Linked DNA regions of Homo sapiens: region 2 is linked to region 1. Evidence: promoter capture Hi-C in human tissues and cell types (Jung and others, 2019). All regions are on one chromosome and are shown on one strand. The core of a region is centred on a gene start or on the middle of the fragment in contact, and the rest is flanking DNA. Distances in the headings are between cores, read along the strand shown. Region 1 holds the start of ARAP3 (ArfGAP with RhoGAP domain, ankyrin repeat and PH domain 3). Region 2 overlaps LOC107986454 (a long non-coding RNA gene).

What was found. Contacts are between HindIII fragments. The study calls those that stand out against the background at their distance.
Region 2: a contact is called between a fragment that was not itself captured here and the fragment with the promoter of ARAP3 in region 1, in 2 of the 25 tissues and cell types used here (aorta and neural progenitor cells).

What each region holds. Positions count from the first base shown.
Region 1 is chr5:141,676,265-141,683,797 of GRCh38, forward strand. It overlaps ARAP3 (ArfGAP with RhoGAP domain, ankyrin repeat and PH domain 3), which reads right to left and starts at 5,966. Exons shown (of 33, transcript NM_022481.6): 1 at 5,909-5,966; 2 at 3,699-4,239; 3 at 3,497-3,558; 4 at 3,281-3,392. The coding sequence starts at 4,222. RefSeq lists a silencer at 5,966-6,015. The HindIII fragment of the contact is 12,570 bases long and covers 844-7,533 here.
Region 2 is chr5:141,816,180-141,823,485 of GRCh38, forward strand. It overlaps LOC107986454 (a long non-coding RNA gene), which reads right to left. Exons shown (of 3, transcript XR_001742906.2): 1 at 5,310-7,306. Among named protein-coding and RNA genes, the nearest start is that of PCDH1, 59 kb to the right of the region's middle. RefSeq lists enhancers at 1-462, 463-1,453, 6,860-7,306. The HindIII fragment of the contact is 6,731 bases long and covers 1-5,422 here.

The DNA of each region.
Region 1 (7,533 bases), core at 4,716-7,215:
TTGAACCCAGGAGGCAGAGGTTGCAATGAGCCGAGATCACACCACTGCACTCCAGCTTGGGTGACAGAGCAAGACTCCGTCTCAAAAACAACAAAAAAACTCTTTTCTTGACTCAGCTTCCTCTAGCAACAATAGTTCCAACTCTCTGCTCTTCTTTGCAGAAAAATTCCTCAAAAGACACTGTCTGTACTTTTCTATTCTCCCTTAAAACCCACTCTCATCGAGCTTTCACCCCATCACTCTGAGACTGTACTTGTCAAGATCCCCAGTGACCTCCAATTCCAAGGGTGAATTCTAAGTCCTATCATACTCAGCAGCAGACCCCTCAGCAGCGTAGGACACAGCTGGCCTCTCCCTTCTTCTTCTACATTTTCCTCACTTTGCTCCTATGACATCACATTCTCCTGGCCTTCTACTTTGCTATTTCTCTTCTGTCCGTTTTGCAGATTCTTCCGCTTCTCCCAAACCTCTAGATATGGGAGTGCACAAGGGCTTTGATCTTGGTCCTCTTCTCTATCTGCACTCACTCACAGCTCTATGCACCCATCTAAGTGCTGACAACTCTCAAGTTTAGGTCTCCAGCTCCGACCTCTCTCTAGACTCTAAGCTCGTCTACCCAGTGGTCTATTTTCACCTCTTCTTGGAGGCATAACTTACACCTCAAATTCAACACATCCAGAACTGCACTCCTAATCTACCCTCTCCTCCCAGCTGCCTGAACACAGTCTTCCCCATCTCAGACCGTGGCGGCTCCAGGAACTTTCAGGTGCTCAGGACAGTGCTATCCAGCAGAAGTTAATGCGAACCAAGTATGTAATTTTAAACTTTTCAGTAGCCACGTTTAAAAAAATTAAAAGAAACAGGTGAAATTAATTTTAATAATATATTTTATTTAACCCAATATATCCTAAACATTAACATTTTAGTATGTAATCAACATAAAAATTACTATTTTTTACTACATAAAAATTCTGTAATCAACATAAAAATATAAACATAAGATAATTTATGTTTATATTTGTTATATTCATCCAGTATTGCTTTTTCTCATATTAAGTCTTTGAAATCTAGCAGGTGTTTTACATTTATTGTGCATCTCAAAGGATACTAGCCGCATTTCATAGGCCCAGTAGTCACATGTGGCTAATGGCTACCATACTGGTCAGCACCAGCTCAGATGGAAGCCCTCAAAGTCATTCTTGACTGCTCTTTTTTTCTCACATCCCAAGTTAATCTGACAGTTTGCCTTCAAAATAAAGCCACTTCTCATCATCTCCACTACTATCACTACACTCTGAGGTCTCTCACCTACATTACTACAAAAACCTCCCCACTGGTCTCTCTGCTTCTCCTTTGGCCCCCTACAGACCACTCCCAACATAGCAACCAGGGGGATCCCTTTATAAAGTCAAAACCCCTCAATGGCTTCCCATTTCACTTAGAGTAAAAGCCAAAGTCCCTTATCTGGCCCCTTGTTTTTGTTTTTTTGGTTTTGTTTTGTTTTTTGTTTTTGTTTTTTTTGTTTTTGTTTTTGTTTTGAGACAGGGTCTCACTCGGTTGTCCAGGATGGAGGGCAGTGGCATGATCTTGACTTGCTGCAACCTCCGCCTCCCGGGTTCAAGTGATTCTCCTGCCTCAGCCTCCCTAGTAGCTGGGACTACAGGTGTGCGCCACCACCCCCAGCTATTTTTTTTTTTTTTTGAGACGGAGTCCTGCTTTGTTGCCCAGGCTGGAGTGCAGCGGCACAACCTTTGCTCACTGCAAGCTCCGCCTCCCGGGTTCACGCCATTCTCTGCCTCAGCCTCCTGAGTAGCTGGGACTACAGGCGCCCACCACCACGCCCGGCTATATTTTTTTTGTATTTTTAGTAGACACGAGGTTTCACCATGTTGACTAGGCTGCTCTCAAACTCCTGAACTCAGGTGGTCCGCCAACCTTGGCCTCCCAAAGTGCTGGGATTACAGGCATGAGCCACTGTGCCTGACCCTTATCTGGCCTCTTTTACCTCTCTGACTTCATCTCCTGCCATTCCTCCCACCGTGGCTCACCTGCCCCAGCCAAGATGGCCTGGCCTCCTCACTGCTCCTGGATCCCTTTGGGCACACACCCGCCTTGAGGCCTCTGTTCCAATCACTTGCCCTACCGGGGCACTCTTCCCCAGTTATCTTCATGGCTAACTCCTTCACCTCCTTCAAGTTTTTGATCAAATGTCATCTTCTTAACGCTCCGCTAACTGTAAATGAAAAATTGCAGTCCACCCATTTTGCCCCCAAGCCCTCTTTTTTTTTTTCTTAGTCACTGCTACCTCCACCTCTCCGGTTCAAGCAATTCTCCTTCCTCAGCCTCCTAACTAGCTGGGATTATAGGCGTCCACCACCGCACCTGGCTAATTTTTGTATTTTTAGTAGAGACGGAGTTTCATCCTGTTGGCCAGGCTGGTCTCAAACTCCTGACCTCAGGTGATCCGTCTGCCTCAGCCTCCCAAAGTGCTGGGATTACAGGTGTGAGCCACCATGCCCGGCCAACCCCCCAGCCCTCTTACTCTGCTCTATTTTTTCCATGGCACTTAATACCTTTTAACGTTCTATAGTATTTAATGTATTATGTTTATTGTTAATAGACTATCTCCCCACAAGGGCAGGGATTTCTGTGTACGCTGATCTATCCCAAGCATCTACATCCGGTGCATGATAGTTGCTCAATAAATATTTGTTGAATGAAAAAATGAAAAGCACTTCTCCTGGTTGGGCACAGTGGCTCATGCCTGTAATCCCAGCACTTTGGGAGGCCAAGGAGGTAGGATCACCTGAGGTCAGGAGTTCGAGACCAGCCTGGCCAACATGGCGAAACCCCATCTCTACTAAAAATATAAAAATTAGCCGGGCATGGTGGCACGCACCTGTAATCCCAGCTACTCGGGAGCCTGAGACAGGAGAATCGCTTGAACCCAGGAGGGGGAGGTTGCAGTGAGCCGAGATTGTGCCACTGCACTCCAATCTGGGCAACAAGGCAAGACTCCGTCTCAAAAAGAAAGAAAGAAAGAAAAGCACTTCTCCCAATTTTCCATTATATGACCATTGGTTTGTCTACTTGTTTTATTCCCTGTCTGTCCCACTGAGTCACAAGCTGCCTGAGGGTGGCACTAGGTCTGTGATACTCATCCTGTATCTTGAGTGCCTGGCTGGTGAATACTCAATGCACATTTGTTGAATAACTGGATACATGGCCGCCACCGACTCACCTGCTCCTCCCTCCCACCACTTCCCTATTTAGTACTCACCTGTGTTCAGCCCTGCCCTGACAAACACCTCTGCTCTCTCTTCTGTCGGGGGCTCCTGGAGTCCCCACAGGTTGGACACCATAGTACAGGCAACCAGGATCCATGATGTGCACTGGCAGGAGGAGAGGGGAACGCACAAGGAAGAGGAGATCGCTGGGAGTGTATGAGGTCCTGCCGGCACTATCCCTCTCCCCCAACCCGTGATAACCCAGTTACCTGTGCCTGTTGTGGGCCTGAGGGCAGGGGTGGGGGCAGAGATTTGGGAGCTGTCTGGGGCCCTGAAGGGAAAGGTCTATTGGTTACTTAAGGAGAGAGGAGGAAGAACAAGCCTTCATGCCCTGCTCCCCGCCTCCGTCCCCCTCATGCTCTCCTCCCCACTCCTCCCAGCATCAGTCCCTAGGGAGCCAACTCCACTCACTTGTCCTGAGCTGCCTGTGCCCTGCCTCTTGAGTCCAGGCCGAAGTAGATGGAATTAGGCATCATCTCCACAGTATTTAGGGCTGAAGACTGCTCAGAGGAGGAAGTGGGGAGAGGAGGAGGCCTTGGGCTGGGCTCTGGGCTCCTGGACACTCCTGGTCCCCCGAGGGCTGGGCTCAGCCCAGGTCTCTGAGTGGTGGCAGGGCCACTGAGTCCACCAAACACGGTCCTGGGCTTCGGCACGGGCTTAGGGGGCTGGGCTTGCGGGGCTGGGCTGGGGGATGGTTCCATGGCACTATCTGATTTGGGATCCAGGGAGCCCTCTTCGGTGCCTGTCTGTAGCAGGCGTAGAATGCGTTTCCGGTGCCCTGTGGCGCTGATGCCCAACTGCTTCAACTCCTCGTGGCCCAGGCCCCGGGCTGCACCTGCTGTAGCCAGGCCATGCCGTCGGAACGTGTCTGCATACTGCTCCAGGTGCACCGTGGCCAGCCACACAGCGATGTCCAGGTCCTGAGGGGCAGCCATGGGGGCTCAGGCCATTGCTGGGGGGAGGGGCAGGGTGAAGGGAGGGCTCAGGCTGAGAATCCCCCTCTCTGCCCCAGAGTCTGAGGCCTGGACAGTGAGCACCAGCCTCCAATCTTCCTCCAAAGAAAGATGCTGAAAGGCCTGCGATCTGGAAGCAGAGCCATCCCAGAACAACAGCAATGGCTCTCTACTTAGGGAAGGGACTTCATTTGAAGTTAAGGAAACTGAGGCCCAGAGAGGGGAAGGGGCTTGCCCCAGGTTCACAGTAAGTCAGTGCTAGAGTTGGCCCCTCAGTTCCTGCCCACCCTGGGTCTGGGTCAAAGCTCTGCTCCTGCCTGACTGCACATCCAACTGAGTAAGCATGGGACAAGATGCTAGAATGCTGTGGGTCAGAGTGGGATAGGGAGATGCAGAGGAGGGGCCAATGATGTGGCCAATCAGCTCTGGAGTAAGGTAGGGAGAGGGGCAGCCTAGATAGGAGGAAGGAGGTGCAGACGCCCCCTCCCTCTTGTTTCCAGAGCCGATGTATGCAGGCCTGCCGTCCTAATCCTGGTTGTTCCCAGTCCCTCCTCCCCTTCCACCTATTGTCTCTGCTCAGACTTCCTTCCTGTCCCTCCAGCCCTGGCCGCCTCCACATCCTGCCTGCTTTGGTCAGGCTGCCGGGAGAGCCCTAACCAGTCCTAATGTGTGGGGTCCCGGCCCTGGGTGGAGGCTAATTGAAGAATAAGGATGGGGATGCCAGAGAGATGAGGCCTGACCTCTGGTCAGGGGTACTCCAGAGGCTTCTGGACTCTCTGCCCACCGGCAGCATGTTCACATGCTGTTCACCTGTGTGTGCACATGCCCTGTAGCGATTTGGCAGTGTGAAATGCCATCCCCCCACCTCTGCTTTCTCCAAGCCTTCCTTTTCTGAGCTTGCCTTTTCCCTGCTCATTCCCTTGGGCTCAGGTCTCTGTGCTCTGTCCCCCTTCCACCAGCCTGACCCCGACCCTGACCCTGGTCTATTTCATAGACCTGTCTCTAATTCTGTGGCCCCTGAGTTTTATCTCTGCCTTGTCACTGTCCCTGCCCCATTCCATCTCAACCTCTCAATTCTTCTTTGTCCCTCTCCTTGTCCCACCCTGTTTTGCTCTCTGTTATTAAGCTTGTCCTTGACTCAGTCTACAATTCTAACCAGATCTTGAGTTGTATCTGTGTCTCTGTCTGCCTCTGAGCCTGGGTTTCTGTCTTCCGCCTCGGCCTAGGCTCTCTCCCTGTTACTCTTGTGCTCTGTCGGTGACCAGGACGCCCTCTCCGTCCCAGCATCACTGCTGGCCTCCCTCTGCCTCTCTCCAGCTGGGCCTCATTCCCAAGCCAGGGCCCGCGTGCTGAGCCTCGGGCCCTGACTCAGGGCCCGGTTTCCCGGTGACTCAGGCCGGGCTCGACAGCACGGGGCTGGGAGCTGAGGTGCTCGCGGGACAGGAGTGGCGGGGGCGGGGCGGGCAGTGGCGGGCAGCGCAGGCTGCGACGAGGGAGGGGGCGAGGAGGGATGGGGCAGAGGCCGGGCAGCAGGAGGGAGGGGCGGGTCGTGGCAGGGATGGGGAGGGCCGCCGGCGCCGAGGGGGCCTGGGAGCCCACGAAGGCCCTCGAGAAGGTGATGGGGAGGAGTCTGGGAAGCAGGGACCCGGGGGGCGCGGGGGTCCTCACCTCACTACGCGGCCGCCGTCCGCTCGCGGGTGCCCGCCGCTCGTCCGAGGTTCTGGGTCCCGCCGCGCCGGCCCCGCCTCCCCTCTGCCCTCCCTCGACGGGCCCAGCCCCGCCCCGCCCGGCCGGTTCCCTCCGCGGGGCCCCGGCCACTCCTTGTGCAAGCGCAGGCCTCCAAAGGGTTTGGGCTTCTTGCCCAACCGCCGCGCTTATCTCCGAGTCTGCCCCCAGTCTGCCCTCTCGCAGGCCGAGAAAGGACCAGAACACGTTGGGACGAAGACAACCTCAGGGAGAGGGACAAAGAGGCAGAGACCGGGACGGAGACTGGGACGGAGGTAGAAACTGAGAAAGGGAGAGTGCCAGGGACGGCTTTGCATCCTCTCCGCTGCTCCCATGCCCTCCAGTCCTGCCAAAAGGGAGGAGGAAAGGTCGAGCCCTAATCCCCCAGGGCACCTCTCCCACGCCCGGAAGGGTGGCTGGACCCTGGCAACCAGTTTAGTGTGGGGACGGAAGCTGGACATCCAGAATTGAGACTTGGCCTGGGCAACAAGCGCAGAGGCCCAGCAGAGGGGTACCCGTCTGTTTCTCCCCACTTCCATCCCCAAGGGCCCGGCCTAGGTTCCTTCGAGGGATGAAGGTCCGCAAGGCACATCCCTACTTCCAAACCAAGGTTTGGGGCTGCCTTTTTGGGACAGGCGGACGCCCTGCAAGCTCAGTGACCAAGCAAGCAGCTGTTTCATTCATGGGAGAAGCCGCCCCTTCTCCCCAACTCCCACCCTAAAATTTCAGGGGGGATGCCGGGGAGGCCTGAAGAGGAATGGCCCTTCTCTCCTTCGCTAATCTTGCCGGAACCCCGGTCCTGGAGCCTGTCTCCCAGGGGCGGAGGCACTTCCCTCTCTGAGCAGGACCAGTGTTTGGGTGTGGGGGGGGGGTGTTTGTGTGTGTGTGTGTGTGTGTGTGTGTGTGTGTGTGTGTGTGTGTGTGTGTGTATGTGTTGGGGGTGGCGGGGGCGCTGGCCGGCTGTGTTTTCCTGTTTGTATGAGAGGAAGTTGGCTGTGAGTCAGCAGACACAGGAACTGTCAGTAGCTAGGGGAAGACCCCTGCCTCAGGGGAAGAAGAGGGGAGTGGGAGGAAGTGGTTCCCACCTCTTCCAGCTGCCTCAGCTAGGGGAGGGACTGTCATCTTCAACCTACTGGAGCCCCACTTTCCCGGCCTTCCCTTTGAGAAAGAGAATTATAGTAATAAAATAATAATTGCAATAGCCATAATAAGGGCTACCAATTATTGAGAGCTGACCGTGCTCCAGGATCTATGTAAACATTGCTTTGCAAACTTTAATCCTCACAAATATCCCTACAAATAGGAAATTTTATCACCTCTATTTTACATATAAGGAGACAGGGAGCATTAAATAACTTGCTCAAGACTCTGCAGCTAGAAAATAGCCAACCCTCCAAGTCTATATCTATAACTACCATGCTCACCTACCACCCTGGACAGGACCCCTGCACCATGTCCTTTTTTTCAGATGGGCAACTGTGGTGGCAGTGAGAATGCTCCTCACAGATCTTACACTGTGAGGAGTGAAATTAACCAATGGCCCCAGCTGCTTCTCTCTGAAATCTAAG
Region 2 (7,306 bases), core at 807-3,306, 140 kb after region 1:
CATTTCCCTCACTCTGGGGATATACAGCCTCCACTGGCAACCAAGATTGTGAACTTACTGGGTGAGAGTCAGGAAGGAGCCCAGGCTTGGTGAGATTGAGGATGTGGTATGGAAGGGACCTAATTTTGTGGCTGTGAGAGACCATCTCTAGCTGGCCCTTCAACTGTGGAAATAGAGCAAGAGGGTGAGGCCTCCGGGAGGCAGTGGCTTGTCCAAGGTTACCTGGTGAACAGACAGCTTCACTCCTCCTCAGCCCCCCAACCCAACCCTTTGGACAACACATCAAGGTCAGAAGCCTCTGAGGATTAGAATCTCTGGAGAAGGGTGGAGAGGTGTAGAGGGGAAGCAATATTTGTACTAAAGGGAGCTGTCCTGGAGCTCAAACCCACACAACCAGACTTGGAATCCTCACCTCCCTTAAGGCTCACCCCCAGCCCCTCCAGCTTCCATCCACCCCTTCCCCGAGCAGCCCCGCCCCTCGAAGAACCTCGGAACACTGGGGCCTAACCATCTCCCCCCATCCCCCATCTTGAGTGAATGTGCCGAACAAACAGCATTGTTCCCTACACAATGGACACAAAGAACTTGGGAATTCACAGAATGGTCCTGAATTTCTGCTTCCTTCCCCTCCAAGCCCTAGAGAGATCCATTGTCTGTAAACTCCACTTAAAATATGCACCATAGCTCCAGCTGGGGAGCCACTTAAGACTTGCGGAAGCTCCTCCTCCCACCCCCACCCGCTGCCTTCCCTCCTTCCTAGCCCTTTCAGAGCTAGGCAGAAAGGAGGGGGAGCAGCAGCCACCTAGAGTCCCTGATGGAGTCTGAAGCTGGGAACGACCCTGTCCACCCCCAAGTTCCTTAAGTCAGACGCTTATCTCACTGGGTCAGACCCAGCACCACTCAGCACCTGGGGCTCCCATTGTTACAGCTGCGTTGGGGTTGAAGGACCTGGTCAGCTGGTGGACTACTAATCACAGAACCTTGATGCTGACATGAAGACTCCCTGGGGCACCTCCCTCTATTCTCCTGTCTGCTTACAGACCCCCAAGGACAGGGAACTCACTACCTCCTAAGGCACCTGTTCTACCCCTGAAACTTCTCATTCTTATAAGACCTTCCTTAGAAGGAACCCCACCCACTTCTCCTTAACAACCCACTTCTTCACCTCCCTGCTCCTATGTTAACATGGTCTTCCTCTGCAATGTGACAGCCTCGCAGAATTTGAAGGCTGCCAATATATTTTGAATATACTGAATATATTGAATATATTGAACATAGAACACATTTGAAGGCTGTCAATATATTCCCCTGTATAAAGGGGATACAGATAAGTTACACAGGTAAGATAACAAGCCCTCAGGCTGGGAATGTGACTCATGCCTGTAACCGCAGCACTTTGGGAGGCCAAGGCAGGTGGATCACTTGAGGCTAGGAGTTCAAGGCCAGCCTGTCCAACATGGCGAGACTCTGTCTCTACTAAAAATACAAAAATTAGCTTTGTCGTGGTGGCGGGCACCTCTAGTCCCAGCTACTCTGGAGGCTGAAACATGAGAATTGCTTGAACCTGGGAGGCAGAAATTCCAGTGAGCCAAGATCGGGCCACTCTACTTCAGCCCAGGCAACAGAGCGAGTATGTCTCAAAAAACAAACAAAAAAATCTCAGATAACCAGCTTTCCCAGAGGGTTGTAATTCTGGTGGGAAGTCAGATACTAATATCAGATAAGATAATGCATAATTACTAAGTAAGATAAGAAGTTGACTATAGGAACTTGGTAATATGAAAGCATCTAACAAAGGAAACTGATCTAGTGTAGAAGGTAGAAGGGTGACCCACCGTAGGCTTCCTGAGAGCTAAAGAAAGTAGGATTTGGCCGGACACACTGGCTCATGCCTGTAATCCCAACACTTTGGGAGGCTGAGGTGGGTGGATCACCTGAGGTCATGGGTTCAAGACCACCCTGGCCAACATGGTGAAACCCCATCTCTACTAAAATACAAAAATTAGCCTGGCATGGTGACACATGCCTGTAGTCCCAGCTACTCAAGAGGCTGAGGCAGAAGAATCACTTGAACCTGGGAGGTGGAGGTTGTAGTGAACAGAGATTGTGCCACTGGACTCCAGCTTGGGTGACAGAGTGAGACTCCATCTCAAAAAAAAAAAAAGGCCAGGCACGGTGGCTCACGCCTGTAATCCCAGCACTTTGGGAGGCCAACGTGGGCAGATCACCTGAGGTCGGGAGTTTGAGACCAGCCTGACCAACATGGAGAAACCCCGTCTCTACTAAGAATGCAAAATTAGCCGAGTGTGATGGCACATGCCTGTAGTCCCAGCTACTCAGGAGTCTGAGGCAGGAGAATTGCTTGAACCCGGGAGGCAGAGGTTGCGGTGAGCCGAGATCGTGCCATTGCACTCCAGCCTGGGCAAGAAGAGAAGAGAGAGGAAAGAAGAGAGAGGGGAGGGGAGGGGAGGAGAGGGGAGGGGAGAGGAGAGGGAAGGAAAAAGAGAAAGAAAGAAAAAAAGAAAGAAAGAAAGAGAAGGAAGGAAGGAAAGAAAGAAAGAGAAAGAAAGAAAAAGAAAGAAAGAAAGAAAGAAAGAAAGAAAGAAAGAAAGAAAGAAAGAAAGAAAGAAAGAAAGAAAGAAAAAAGGATTTAATTCTGGAAAGAGGGGAGGAAACAGTATGCAGGGTGATGGGATCAGACTGTGCAAAGATCCTGTGGCAGGAGGGAATCCATCTTATTCAAGGACCTGAAGAAGCCAATGGGATTGGAGGCCAGTGGGTGGGGTTGTAAGACTGTAGGTCTCAGTGAGGAGGTTGGCATGATTCTAACAGCAATGGAAAGATACAAATGTGTACGTGCAATAAAAGCTGATTGACATTTGCCTCAGAATGACACAGATTCCTAGAGTCACTGGCCCAAAGCAATTCTTCCGAGCTTTTGCACTTGCTGTGCCCTCTGCCTGGAATGCTCTGTTTCCAGATTTTTTCTGAGGCTGATTTGTTCTCATCATTTAGGTCTTGACCCAAACCACTCGTCCTAAAGGAGCTCCCTCTACATGCACTGTTGCTCTCTATCCCTTTATCTTGTTTTATTATTTTTACAGCACTTTCACGATCTAAAACTAAATTGTTAATTTCTTTGCTTTACTGTTACTCTTTCCACTCGCTAGAAAAAAAGCTCAGTATGGGCAGGAATTTTGCCTTAGCGACTACCACATTCTAGCGTCGGCATTGTGCTAGCCCACAGTAGGGCCTCAATAAATAATAAATGAACAAATGAATGAATTACTGAATACACACCAAGATAAAAGGGCCAGTATTTACCCACAAACATACACATATAAATGTATGGTTATTCATGGGCAAGTGCATGAGTACCCACGGTGACTCAGAGATTTCCCTCGCCCACAAGGACCACCTCTCAAGGGGCCTTTTAGGCAATCCAGAGCCTGTACAGTTCATTGCCCTAGTCTAGCTAATCAATATACACCTCCTCTGGCTGGATGAGGACCTGCACAAGCAGACCTGTCTCAGGTCAGCCATTGGTTAATCAAAGACGAGGGTGGAATTTAAAGTGCCCTATGGAGGGGCAGTGAAAACAGATTGATCCATGTGGCCTGGACACAGTAAAACCCCTTACAGGCTCCATTTATTTCCCACCTCTCATCTCCCCTCTCCTCCTGGGGCCCCAGCCCATCTTCCACTGCTCCCCATTTCCCACTCTACTGGAAGTGGCTGAACCAGGCATTGTGTGGGACTCAGGACAAATAGATTAGAATTTAGTGGGGTTTTACAGGGTTTGGGAATTTGACTAGGTGGGCAATATTTTAAACAAGCATTTATTGTCTTAGCAAGTACCTACTAAGTGCAAAGCTTGGCTAGGGACTGCCAGATTCATTACATAATAGCTGATTCAGGGCAGACTGTGAAAAATGATTTAGTCAGAAACCCTAAAGGTGGAATCCCTGTGTTCCCAAGGTACATGTCAGAGTGGGACACAGTTAATTCCCAGTTGGGGAGCTCTGGGATAGCTTACTAGAGTATCATTCTAAATAACTACCACTTTAATAGAGCACTTACTGTGTAAGCACATTTTACATGTGACCTTTCTGATTTAATCCTCACTCTTAAGCCTCTGGGTATGTGTGATTGCTATTATTATCCCATTTACAGATGGGGAGACTAAGGCTCAGGGAGGATTAAGCGAGTTGCCCAAATTTTCCACAGCTATTAAGCGGCAGAGTAGATTTTCAAGCTCAAGAGGAGACGCCAGAGTCCCTGCTCTGGGACCCCACCATGACAATGGCTATAGCTGTGCCTTGACGCAAAGGTAGGACTTACTTAGGTGGGAAGATAGGAGAAGTCCATTCTAGGAAGAGGACACAGTTTGAGAAAAAGCTGATAGGCAACGGTGCCAGAAGTTTTTCTGTGTGTGTATGGATTTTGTTTGTTTGTTTGTTTGAGACTGAGTTTCGCTCTGTGGCCCAGGCTAGAGTGCAGTGGTGCGATCTCAGCTCGCTGTAACCTCCGCCTCCCAGGTTAAAACGATTCTCCTGCCTCAGCCTCCTGCGTAGCTGGGATTACAGGCATGCGCCACCATGCCCGGCTAATTTTTTGTATGTTTAATAGAGTCAGGGTTTCACCATGTTGGCCAGACTGGTCTCCAACTCTTGACCTCAAGTGATCCGTCCGCCTCGGCCTCCCAACGTGCTGGGATTACAGGCATGAGCCACCGCGCCCAGCCTAGATGTTTTTTAAAACTTTCTGGTAGCTGGTCAGGTGTGGTGACTCACACCTGTAATCCCAGCACTTTGGCAGGCTGAGGCAGGCGAATCACCTGAGGTCGGGAGTTTGAGACCAGCCTGGCCAACATGGAGAAACCCCGTCTCTACTAAAAATACAAAATTAGCCAGGCGTGGTGGCGCATGCCTGTAATCCCAGCTACTCGTGAGGCTGAGGCAGGAGAATCGTTTGAACCCGGGAGGCGGAGGTTGCGGTGAGCAGAGATTGCGCCATTGAACTCCAGCCTGGGCAACAAGAGCGAAACTTCGTCAAAAAAAAAAAAAAAAGAAAAATCTCTGGTAGCCTGAGGTCCTAGGAGATTTAAAACAACAACAACAAAAATAACAAAAACAAACAAAAAACAACTATTGCTGACTTTTTTCTCTATCTGGTCTTTAGGATATTAGCCCCAGGATGGATTCTTGCCCTGGGTGTGTCTTTCTCTAGTTCCCAAACAGAATTTTATCCAAAGGTGGATGATAGGGGGTGAGGGTGCAGTATTTTTGGTGAATTGGTCTTCTCCCTACCCTGGCTGGGATGGGGGCCACTTGGGGACACTTTCCAGGCCCAGCTGGTCCTCTGCCCATCTGCATCCCTGCCTCCTGACTCATTTCATTCCAACCAATAGAGTCTTAGCATGCAAATTTAATGAATAGGCAAAGAAATGATTGGCTCATTTTCCCTGATGTAATAATGCCACTATTCAAGTAACTCCTATGAACCCTACCCCCACCCCAGTTCAGGGCATTTGATCATGTTCTGGCAAGAATCCCCAACTCCTGTTTTCCCTTTTTTTCCCCATTCTGAGTTAGCGAATCACTTCAAAATGCCCGACTCATCTCTCCAGGGGTGGGATGTCTGGAGGGCCAGGAAGCCACCCTTAGGCCTGAACCACTGCCATCTTTCTGGGAGGCCCCTTATGCCTCTGCGGACTGTGGGTAGCATCAAATCCAGGATAACAGAGCCCATTTACTAAGACGTTTTGCGAGAATCCATGTCCAAAGCCTTCCTGAAACCAAACCCCAGCATATCGGCTGTTCCTTTCAGCCCCTAATTTAGTAATTCTATTGAGAAAAAGAGATTGTGGGTTTTTTTATTTGGTGTGATTTATTCTTTATCATATAAATAATAATAATTTACACAAAGCTCATCCCCAAACAGAAGAGAATCTGTACATAAAAATAAACAAAAATTAAACTGAGCTGGGCCTGGTGCCCAGAAAACCAGCCAATTCCAAACACAACCAGGGGGAACAAATTCTCCAGGTCCTGGGAGCTCTGGGGCCTTGGCTGGAATTCTGGGTGGAGACTCTGGTCCGGGAAGCCATTGCCCTCTTTCCTGTACATCCTGTGCCGGATGATGGCACATCTGGCAGCCAACACTCATGGACAGCCAACCAGCAAGCTCACTGGGTTGGGAGGTGGGTGGGACTTGAGCTTAAGGGAAGAATCAGTTTTAAAACTCCTGGGCAGTGTTGCTTGCTTCTGGCTTCCCCAGGGGCTGTGAGAGATACTGTGGCTGGGGAGATGGGTGTTGGCCACCATCCAAAGGGGTGGAAGCTGCCTATGGCTCCATCTTTCTCCTGTAGCTCCTTAGAGGCATGAGTTGGACAGAGTACCCACTGGTCTTCTTTTCCCTTGGAGCTCTAGCTCCCTCTCTGGAGGCTCGTTATTTCTTATAGATATTGAAAGATGACAAGCAATCTTCTTGGCCATTGATTAATTTCCCTCAGCAGGCACTCTTTGGCTGTTCGAAACTTCTCCTTCACCACCTCCATCTTATTGCAGAAAAATCTCTTAAGAAGAAGACTGCCTTCCACATTCTGGTTTCGTACCTTTACTTACAAAGGGAGGAGTATATGTGGCTTAAACTGCTGTTTGGTTTGACTGTAAGCCCCATCCTCCCATCCCAAGGCAGGGGTTAGATCTGCATTGGTCTATAGGTACACAGTCATTTGCAATTAGAGACTTTATAAATGGTGAAGTTGATCATGATAGTGAACGCGATAAGGCTAAGATGGTGATGGAGAAGATAAAAGGAAAAGGGATTTTGATAGCAGTGCTGAGCCTGCCCTTGTGTCTGGGGTGATTATCTGGCTTAGCCTGAAATGAGAAATTGTGAAGGTGGTGGTGAAAGCTAAGGACAGGAGAAGAGGAAAGTGAAGGTAAATGTGTCCAGGTACAGGTGAAGCTTCCAGAGAAGAGAGGTAGCACAGCCCAGTGGTTAGGAGTCTAGATTCTGGGGCAGGACATTCTGGTTTCAAATTCTAGCTCGACCACATACTAGCTTAGGGAAGTATTTAACCTCTCTGAGCCTCAGCCTCCCCAGCTGTAAAATGGGAATCATAACAGTACCTGCCTCAGAGGGTGGCTCATGGTAAGCGCTGTATGAGCATGTGCAACCTAAGGTATAGGTGGGATTACAGTTACAGCCAGAGGAAGGGCCACAAAGCACAGCAAGCAGCACTGGGAAGATTCAGGAGATCTCGATCAGGCCCCATCACAGTCCTGTGTGACTTTCCCCA